Linked DNA regions of Homo sapiens: region 2 is linked to region 1. The links are contacts of gene promoters, found by promoter capture Hi-C in human tissues and cell types (Jung and others, 2019). All regions are on one chromosome and are shown on one strand. Each heading gives the region's core, a stretch centred on a gene start or on the middle of the fragment in contact. The rest is flanking DNA. Distances are from core to core; before and after follow the strand shown. Region 1 holds the start of SULT1A2 (sulfotransferase family 1A member 2). Region 2 has its middle 7.4 kb from the start of NPIPB8.

What was found. Contacts are between HindIII fragments. The study calls those that stand out against the background at their distance.
Region 2: a fragment that was not itself captured here is called in contact with the fragment with the promoter of SULT1A2 in region 1 in 1 of the 25 tissues and cell types used here (psoas muscle).

Annotation. Positions count from the first base shown.
Region 1 is chr16:28,593,983-28,598,559 of GRCh38, reverse strand. SULT1A2 (sulfotransferase family 1A member 2) reads left to right here and starts at 1,510. Exons shown (of 8, transcript NM_001054.4): 1 at 1,510-1,563; 2 at 2,626-2,777; 3 at 2,885-3,010; 4 at 3,096-3,193. The coding sequence starts at 2,630. RefSeq lists an enhancer at 1,278-1,572. The HindIII fragment of the contact is 13,947 bases long and covers 1-4,577 here.
Region 2 is chr16:28,628,219-28,633,131 of GRCh38, reverse strand. No RefSeq gene overlaps it. Among named protein-coding and RNA genes, the nearest start is that of NPIPB8, 7.4 kb to the left of the region's middle. The HindIII fragment of the contact is 3,733 bases long and covers 1,351-4,913 here.

The DNA.
Region 1 (4,577 bases), core at 261-2,760:
AAAGAGGGGTATATTCATGAAGATTCCAGGAAAAGGTAAAGATTTCTCAAGACCGTGGTGCCACAATTTACACCCAAATACAGGTGTTCCTGGAGCCGTCTTGGCACTGGTGGGTGTACGGTTTCATATGTTACTGATTGTACAGTGAGATCCTAGGTGAAACCTACATCAAATACAGCGCCATGTTGCTTCTGGTTGGTCGCAGCCAGCTTGGTCCTCATCCTATTTTTCAGGGACTTATTGGCCCTTGGCACATGCAGCTATTTCAAGTTTCCTTCTTCTGGTCATGTGAAACTGCTGCCTGGGATTTTCTGTTGTCTTGCTAGCACTCTATTAATCTCACATTCTCGCCTCTTTTCTGTGCCACCCCCTGCTGGTCCGGCTGGTTTTCACTAGAGTGCAATACAAAGTCTCAGTCAAGAGGGCCTCCTGAAGGTTGCTGAGGGCAGGGGTGGAGCTAGTAGCCGGAGGACCTGCCAGTCATGGGGATTCCTCAGGGGCACAGAGGAGGGAGGAGGGGCCTGTGGCCCTAGCAGGGGAGCAGCCTCTCCTCTGCCTGGAAATCCCATGCCTCAGTTTTCCCCGCTTGCCTCTGAGCTCACGCAACCCTGGGAAGGCTTGGGAGACTCACCTTTACTCAGATGGTTGTTTACCTGTCTCGTGCCCAGCTTGACCCTGGACTTTAAATAGTGAGGACAAAGAACGAGGAGGGTGGGGGGATGCACTCCTTCCACGGGGCCCTGTGGCTTCCAAGCCTCAACCTCCTCTGGCCTCTGTCTGTGGAGCCTCCTTCAAACCCATGGAAAGAAAAGTACCTGCCAGGGGCTGTGGTTCTTCTAGGATCTTCTATCGATGTTCTGTGAGGTCCCCAGGGAGCCATGAAGCTGGGGCTGGCTCCCAGGGCAATGGGACTGCAGTGTCCTTGTTCTTTCTTGTTCTATGGATCCATGCTCTGCTCCACCCCTGCCCCTTCACTCTGCCCACACGCATCACTCCAGACTGGCCTTGTGGTCAGAGCCTGGAGTGCATGGGCTGCTGGAGGCCTGTGGGTTGCACTGGGCCAGGACCCCTGGCACCTTCAAGACTGGCCTGGAGCCAGCAGGTAGGTGACCTTTCCAGGGCCTGCCTATCCCATCTTTCTCCTCCAATCCCTCCCCTCTCTTGCCTGGGTCAATTAGAGAAAGCTTGTCTTTTGGAGTTCAGGGGCAGGTCAGGAGCCCAGTGACAGCTCAAAAAAAAAAACCCACAAAAACAAACCCACCATTGGGCCCTTTCCCCTTTCATTCTTCTGTTTTCTACACACCAAACCCAGTCGTGGCTTTGGAGATCACTTTAAGCTTGTCTCCAGCTGGCAAACTAAGGAGGGTAATAGAGAAGCTCCCCCACCCCCAACCCTACCCCTTCCTTCCGGAAGCAAATCTAAGTCCAGCCCCGGCTCCAGATCCCTCCCACACTGACCTAAGAAACCCTCAGCACAGACAACACCCCTGCATTCCCCACACAACACCCACACTCAGCCACTGCGGGCGAGGAGGGCACAAGGCCAGGTTCCCAAGAGCTCAGGTGAGTGACACACCGGAATGGCCCAGGACGCCCTCACCCTGCTCAGCTTGTGGCTCCAACATTCCAGAAGCCGAGGCCTCTGCTATCCCTGCCCTCTCCCCATGGATATCCCATTTCAGACAACCCCGGCCGGCCTGAATCCCCCTCCCTTCCTTTTTTTTTTTTCCGGGGAGGCCAGGTCTTGCTGTCACCGAGGCTGGAGTGCTGTGGGATCCTGGCCACTGCAGCCTTGAATTCCTGGGCTCAAGTGATTCTCCTGCCTCAGTAGCTAGGACTACAGACCCTCACCATCCTGCCTGGATAGTTTTAAAAAATATTTTTAAAAGATTTTTAGAGATGGGGTCTTCCAATGCTGCCCAGATTGGTCTCCAAATTCTGGCCTCAGCCTCCCTAGGGTCTGGGATTACAGGTGGGAGCCACCCTGCCCAGGATCCTCCTTTTGCTGAGTCATCACAGTTTTGCTCATTCCCACATCAGGCTCTGGCCCCCAATACCAGCTCAGTTGCTCAATGGGCTGTTTGTCCTGGAGCCCAGATGGACTGTGGCCGGGCAAGTGGATCACAGGCCTGGCCAGCCTAGGAGTTGCCACATGTGAGGGGCCGAGGGGCTCAAGGAGGGGAACATCGGGGAGAGGAGCCTACTGGGTGGAGGCTGGGGGTCCCAGCAGGAAATGGTGAGACAAAGGGCGCTGGCTGGCAGGAAGACAGCACAGGAAGGTCCTAGAGGTTCCTCAGTGCAGCTGGACTCTCCTGGAGACCTTCACACACCCTGACATCTGGGCCCCGCGCCACGAGGGTGCTTTCACTGGTCTGCACCATGGCCCAGGCCCTGGGATTTTGAACAGCTCCGCAGGTGAATGAAAGGTGAGGCCAGGCTGGGGAACCACCACATTAGAGCCCGACCTGGTTTTCAGCCCCAGCCCCGCCACTGACTGGCCTTGTGAGTGCGGGCAAGTCACTCAGCCTCCCTAGGCCTCAGTGACTTCCCTGAAAGCAAGAATTCCACTTTCTTGCTGTTGTGATGGTGGTAAGGGAACGGGCCTGGCTCTGGCCCCTGACGCAGGAACATGGAGCTGATCCAGGACATCTCTCGCCCGCCACTGGAGTACGTGAAGGGGGTCCCGCTCATCAAGTACTTTGCAGAGGCACTGGGGCCCCTGCAGAGCTTCCAGGCCCGGCCTGATGACCTGCTCATCAGCACCTACCCCAAGTCCGGTAGGTGAGGAGGGCCACCCACCCTCTCCCAGGTGGCAGTCCCCACCTTGGCCAGCGAGGTCATGCTCACCTCAGCCTGCTCACCTCCCATCTCCCTCCCTCTCCAGGCACCACCTGGGTGAGCCAGATTCTGGACATGATCTACCAGGGCGGTGACCTGGAAAAGTGTCACCGAGCTCCCATCTTCATGCGGGTGCCCTTCCTTGAGTTCAAAGTCCCAGGGATTCCCTCAGGTGTGTGTGTCCTGGGTGCAAGGGGAGTGGAGGAAGACAGGGCTGGGGCTTCAGCTCACCAGACCTTCCCTGACCCACTGCTCAGGGATGGAGACTCTGAAAAACACACCAGCCCCACGACTCCTGAAGACACACCTGCCCCTGGCTCTGCTCCCCCAGACTCTGTTGGATCAGAAGGTCAAGGTGAGACTGGGCACAGTGGTTCACACCCGCAATCTCAGTACTTTGGGAGGCTGAGGTGGGAAGATCCCTTGAAGCCAGAAGTTCCAGATAAGTCTCTTCCAAAAAAAAAACTTAGCTGTGCATAGTGGTGTGTGCCTGTAATACCAGCTACTCAGGAGGCTGAGGTGGGAGGATCATCTGAGCCTAGGAGTTTAAGGCTACAGTGAGCTATGATCACACCAGTGCACTCCAGGCTGGGTGACAGAGAAACACTGTCTCAAAAAACGATGAATAGAAAGAGTGTCCCACCAGTGCGGTGGCTCACACCTGTAATTCCAGCACTTGAAGAGGCTGAGGCAGGTGGATCACCTGAGACTAGGAGTTTGAGATCAGCCTGGCCAACATGGCAAAACCCCATCTCTACTAAAAATACAAAAAAATTAGCCGGGCATGGTGGCAGGCATCTGTAATCCCAGCTACTTGGGAGGCTGAAGCAGGAGAATTGCTTGAAGCTGGGAGGCAGAGGTTGTAGTCAGCCGAGACCTCACCATTGCACTGCAGCCTGGGAAACAAGAGCAAAACTCTGTCTCAAAAAAAAAAAAAAAAAAAAAAAAAAAGCGGCAGGTGGCAGGGGGCTGGGCCTGTTGTGGCTCACGCCTGTAATACCAGCACTTTCGGAGGTCGAGGTGGGCAGATCACCCAAGGTTAGGAGTTTGAGATCAGCCTGGCCAACATGGAGAAACCCCGTCTCTACTAAAAATACAAAAATTAGCCAGGCGTTGGGGCAGGCGCCAGTAATCCCAGCTACTCGGGAGGCTGAGGCAGGAGAATAGCTTGCACCTGGGAGGCGGTGGTTGCAGTGAGCCGAGATTGTGCCACTGCACTCCAGCCTGGGAGACACAACGAGACATTGTTTCAAACAAAACAAATAAATATTTTAAAAGGTTTGCCACCTGGGTGGCTCACCGCTGTAATGCCAGCATTTTGGGAGGCCAAGATGGGTGGACCGCTTGAGCTCAGGAGTTCCAGACCAGCCCAGGAAACATGGGGAGACTCCATCTCTATAAAAGATGCAAATAATCAGCAGGGCATGGTGGCATAGCGCTATAGTCCCAGCTACTCAAAAGTCTAAGGTTGGAGGATTGCTTGAGCCTGGGAGGTCAACGTTGCAGTGAGCTATTCTCACTCCAGTGCACTCCAACCTGGGCAACAGGAAAAAAGAAAGCCCAAGGTCTTTTTTCTCTTTTCTCTTTTTTTTGAGACCTAGAGTCCCCCCCCCCAAAAAAAAAAAAAAACCACAACAAAAAGAAAAAAGCAAAGGTCCAGGTGTGGGGCATGTGAATCCAGGGAAGGAGGCCCCGGCTCAGCCCAGCTTTGGTCCTGTTCTTCTGGGAGAGTCGCCTCA
Region 2 (4,913 bases), core at 1,968-4,467, 33 kb before region 1:
GCAGGTGGATCATCTGAGCCCAGGAGTTTGAGACCAGCCTAGGCAACATGGCAAGAGCCTGTCTCTCCAAAACCTACAAAAATTAGCCAAGCATGGTGGTGTGAGCCTGTAGTCCCAGCTACTTGGGAGACTCATGCAGGAGGATCTCTCGAGCCCAGGAGGCAGAAGATGAATAAATAAATGGATGCCACTGAATGAGATGAGGTCTCTCTTGAAGGAGAGAGCAAAAGATATTTAAATAATAATTATAATAAGGCTGGGCGCGGTAGCTCACGCTTGTAATCCCAAAACTTTGGGAGGCCAAGGCAGGTGGATCGGTTGAGGTCAGGAGTTCAAGACCAGCATGGCCAACACGGTGAAACCCTGTCTCTATTAAAAATACAAAATTAGCCGGGCATGGTAGTGCATGCCTGTGGTCTCGGCTACTCAGGTGGCTGAGACAGGAGAATCGCTTGAACCTGGTAGGCACAGGTTGTAGTGAGCCGATAAATATAAAAAGTATTAGAGTACTAACAGAGGAAAGTTTCCACTGATCACCTTTTAGCTTTAAACAATGCAGAAGCATTTGCCCAGTTTACTTGTAATTAAAAATCATGCATCATTCACAATTTATCAGTCTTTTTTGTTTGTACAATAACTAATATAGTTATTCTCTTTTGTCTGTATTTTGACTGGTTTGGTGAGAGGGAATTAGGCCACCTGAGAGTTTGTGTGTTTAAAATTTTCTGGCCAGGCACGGTGGCTCATGCCTGTAATCCCAGCACATTTGGAGGCTGAGGCAGGGGTATCACCTGTGTTCAGGGGTTCTAGACCAGCCTGACCAACATGGAGAAACTCCCGTCTCTACTAAAAATACAAACTTAGCTGGGCGTGGTGGTACATGCCTGTAATCCCAGCTACTCAGGAGGCTGAGGCAGGAGAATCACTTGAACCTGGGAGGCGGAGGTTGTGGTGAGCTGAGATCGCGCCATTGCACTCCAGCCTGGGCAACAAGAGCGAAACTCTGTCTCAAATAAATAAATAAACTATCACAGCATAAAGTAGAGGGATATTTCATTACTATCTAGTTAAACTGGTTAATGCAGAAAGGAAGTCTGGAAATTCCAGTTTTAAAGTAAAATTTTGGACATTGTAGGATTGATTATTTGGCATAGTTGTGATGTTTGTTCCTGCATTATGGTTTTGTTGGCAGAGCAGCCTCTAAGGACCTGTATATTTTCTTCTAGACTCTATATATTCCCTGTGAGTATTAGTTGCATGGTCAAACTGGCAAATTTTACCATAGGTATAAATAATAGAGAATGTGGAAGAATAGTGAATAGTGTCAGAGATAGTTAAAAGTCCATACAGAAGTAGAGAGGGTAATAAGTAACAGTGGCTTGGACTAAATATTTGTTGAATAAATTTTTTAAAAAACAGGCTACCTACAATTTGTGTTGAAGATATGAATGAATGAAGTTTCCACACCCTTATGTGGAGTCCTGATAAGTAAGCAACAATAAGGAAGGGTCCCCAGGTTGGGGAGAGCCCCAAGTTGAGAACAATAATGAACAATTACTGTATGAACAATTGTTAGAGACAGCTAATCACAAACAACCTGCGGGCACAATGACCTCATTCCACACGTAGCACCCTTCAGCAGGACCCTATAAAACTTTCCTCCAGCCCCTGCCTCTTTGCAGGTAGCCCCTTCTCTGCTGAGCTGCCCACTGCAACATATTTTCATAATTTCTCTAATAAATCTGCCCTTCTTTACCTACAACTATCTTGGTAAATGGCTTTACCACCTGCAAAACTGACCCTAGGTTGTTGCTACCCGATATGGTTTGGCTGCGTCCCCACCCAAATTTCATCTTGAATTGTAGTTCCCATAATCCCCATGTGTCGTGGGAGGGACCTGGTAGGAGGTAATCAAATCATGGGGGCAGGTTTTTCCCATACTGTTCTTGTGATAGTGAATACATCTCACTAAATCTGATGGTTTTATAAAGGGCAGTTTCCCTGCACGTGCTCTCTTTCCTGCAGCCATGTAAGACGTACCTTTGCTCCTTCTTTGCCTTCCACCATGATTCTGAGGCCTCCCCAGCCTTGTGGAACTGTGAGTACATTAAACCTCTTTTCCTTTATAAATTACCCAGTCTCGAGTATTTCTTCATAGCAGTATGAAAAGTAACTAATACACTACCTGAGACACCTTAGGAGATTTGTAATAGCTGTAATGCCAGGTCCACCATATTTTTAGCATAAAGCAAATGTTTACCCATGATATGACTGCACAGGCTTTCAGCTGGAGCCATAGCAACTCAAGTAGTAACCCTATCTTAGTCTGATTAAAAGTAAATATTAGTCTGGGCATGGTGGGACATGCCTGTAATCCCAGTACTTGGGGAGGCTGAGACAGAAGGATTGCTTGAGCCCAGGAGTTTGAGACCAGCCTGGGCAACATGGAAAAACCCCGTCTCTACAAAAAATACAAAAATTAGCTGAGCGTGGTGGCACACACCTGTAGTCCCAGCACCTTGGGAGGGTGAGGCAGGAGTATCTCTTGAACCCAGGAGGTGGAGGCTGCAGTGAGCAGTGATCATGTCAGAGGCATGTGAACCAGAGCAACTCCATCTTAAATAGGAGCTGGGAAAAATGAGGCTGAAACTACTGGGCTGCATTCCCTAATGGTTAAGGCATTCTAAGTCACAGGATGACATAGAAGGTCAGCACAAAATACCAGTCATAAAGACCTTGCTGATAAAACAGGTTGCAGTGAAGGAGCTGGCCAAAACCCACCAAAACCAAAATAGTGACAAGAGTGACCTCCCATCATCCTCCCTGCTACACTCCTACCAGCACCATGACAGTTTACAAATGCCATGGCAACATCAAGAAGTTATCCTATATGGTCTAAAAAGAGGAGGCATGAAAAATCCACCCCTTGTTTAGCATATCATCAAGAAATAACCATAAAAATGGGCAACCAGCAGCCCTCATGGCTGCTCTGTCTATGGAGTAGCCATTCTTTTATTCCTTTACTTTCTTTTTCTTTTTTTTTTTTTTTTTTTTTGAGATGGAGTCTCCCGCTGTCACCCAGGCTGGAGTGCACTGGCATGATCTCGGCTTACTGCAAGCTTCGCCTCCCGGGTTCACGCCATTCTCCTGCCTCAGCCTCCAGAGTAGCTGGGACTACAGGCGCCCACCACCACACTTGGCTAATTTTTTTGTATTTTTAGTAGAGACAGGGTTTCACCGTGTTAACCAGGATGGTCTTGATCTCCTGACCTCATGATCCACCTGTCTCGGCCTCCCAAAGTGCTGGGATTACAGGCGTGAGCCACCGTGCCCCTCCTCCTTTACTTTCTTAATAAACTTGCTTTCAATTCACATTGCGGGATCACCCTGAATTCTTTCTTGTGCAAGATCCAAGAACCCTCTCTTGGGGTCTGGATTGGGACCCCTTTCCTGTAACTATCATGCCACTGCACTCCAGCCTGGGCAACAGAGCAAGGCCCTGTCTCAAAAAGAAAAAAAAAAAAGTAATATGACTTAATGCATTCATTTTGGAGGGTAAGTCTCTCAAAATAGGCCTTTCACTGGGGGAAAATGGTAAAAATACTCCCTGGTAATTCAAGAATTGGAGACTCCTGAGATGCTGCTCATATTAGCTGAACACTTATCAATACTTCACTTTTTTCCATATATACTCAAGGAACAAGTGCCATTTAAAGTGTTTCACTCCGCTGTGCTAGGTGCAAGACTATAAAGAGTTGTGAGGATCAATACTTTTATGAAAACCAATGTCATTCTGAATATAGTTTCAGATGCTAGTGCAAAGGAAGCTCTTAGTATACGTAAAAAGTATTCAACAATAAATTGGGCATGGTTGCTTCCATTTTCTGCCTCACATACTTTTTTTTTCATGGTTAAAGTGATATAATGTCTATGATACTTTAGATTGGCAGTTGCAAACTAGTGGTCCTCAGCGTGCTTTTTATGACACCTACAAGGTTTGAAGACTTCGATTTCATATTAAAAATCTGGGTTTCAGGCTGGGTGTGGTGTTGCATGCCTGTAATCCCAGCACTTTGGGAGGTTAAGGTGGGTGGATCACCTGAGGTCAGGAGTTCGAGACCAGCCTGGCCAACATGATGAAACTCTGTCTCTACTAAAAATACAAAAATCAGCCAGGCATGGTGGCATGTGCCTGTAATCCCAGCTACTCAGGAAGCTGAGGCAGGAGAATCACTTGAACCAGGGAGGTGGAGGTTGCAGTGAGCCAAGATCACGCCACTGCACTCAAGCTTAGGCAATAGAGCAAGACTCCATCTCAAAAAATGAATAAATAAATAAATAAAATCTGGGTTTCAGGCCAGGTGTGGTGGTGCACTCCTGCAATCCCAGCACTTTGGGAGGCTGAGATGGGCAGACAGCTTGAGCTCAGGAATTCCAGACTAGCCTGGGCAATGTGGCGAAACCCCATGTCTACAAATAATACAAAAAAATTAGCTGGGTGTAGTGGAGTGTGCCTGTAATCCCAGCAACGTGGGAGGCTGAAGTGAGAGGATTGCTTGAGCCTGGGAGGTTGAGGTCACAGTGAGCTGAGATCGCCCTTCTACACTCCAACCTGGGCAACAGAGCCAGACCTTGTCTTAAAAAAAAAAAAAAAAAAAAAAATTCTAGGTTTCTGGCATCTCAAAAAAAAAAAAAAAAAAGGAAAAGTCAGGGCACATGGCTGCTACAGTCCTCTATTAAGCAATGTGCCACAGCAGGGGTCCCTGACCCCTGGGCCATGGACATGTACTGGTCTGTGGCCTGTTAGGAACTGGGCCACAGAACAGGAGGTGAATGGTGGGTAACAATTGAAGCTTCGTCTGTATTTCTGGCCGCTCCCCATTGCTTGCATTGCTGCCTGAGCTCTGCCTCCT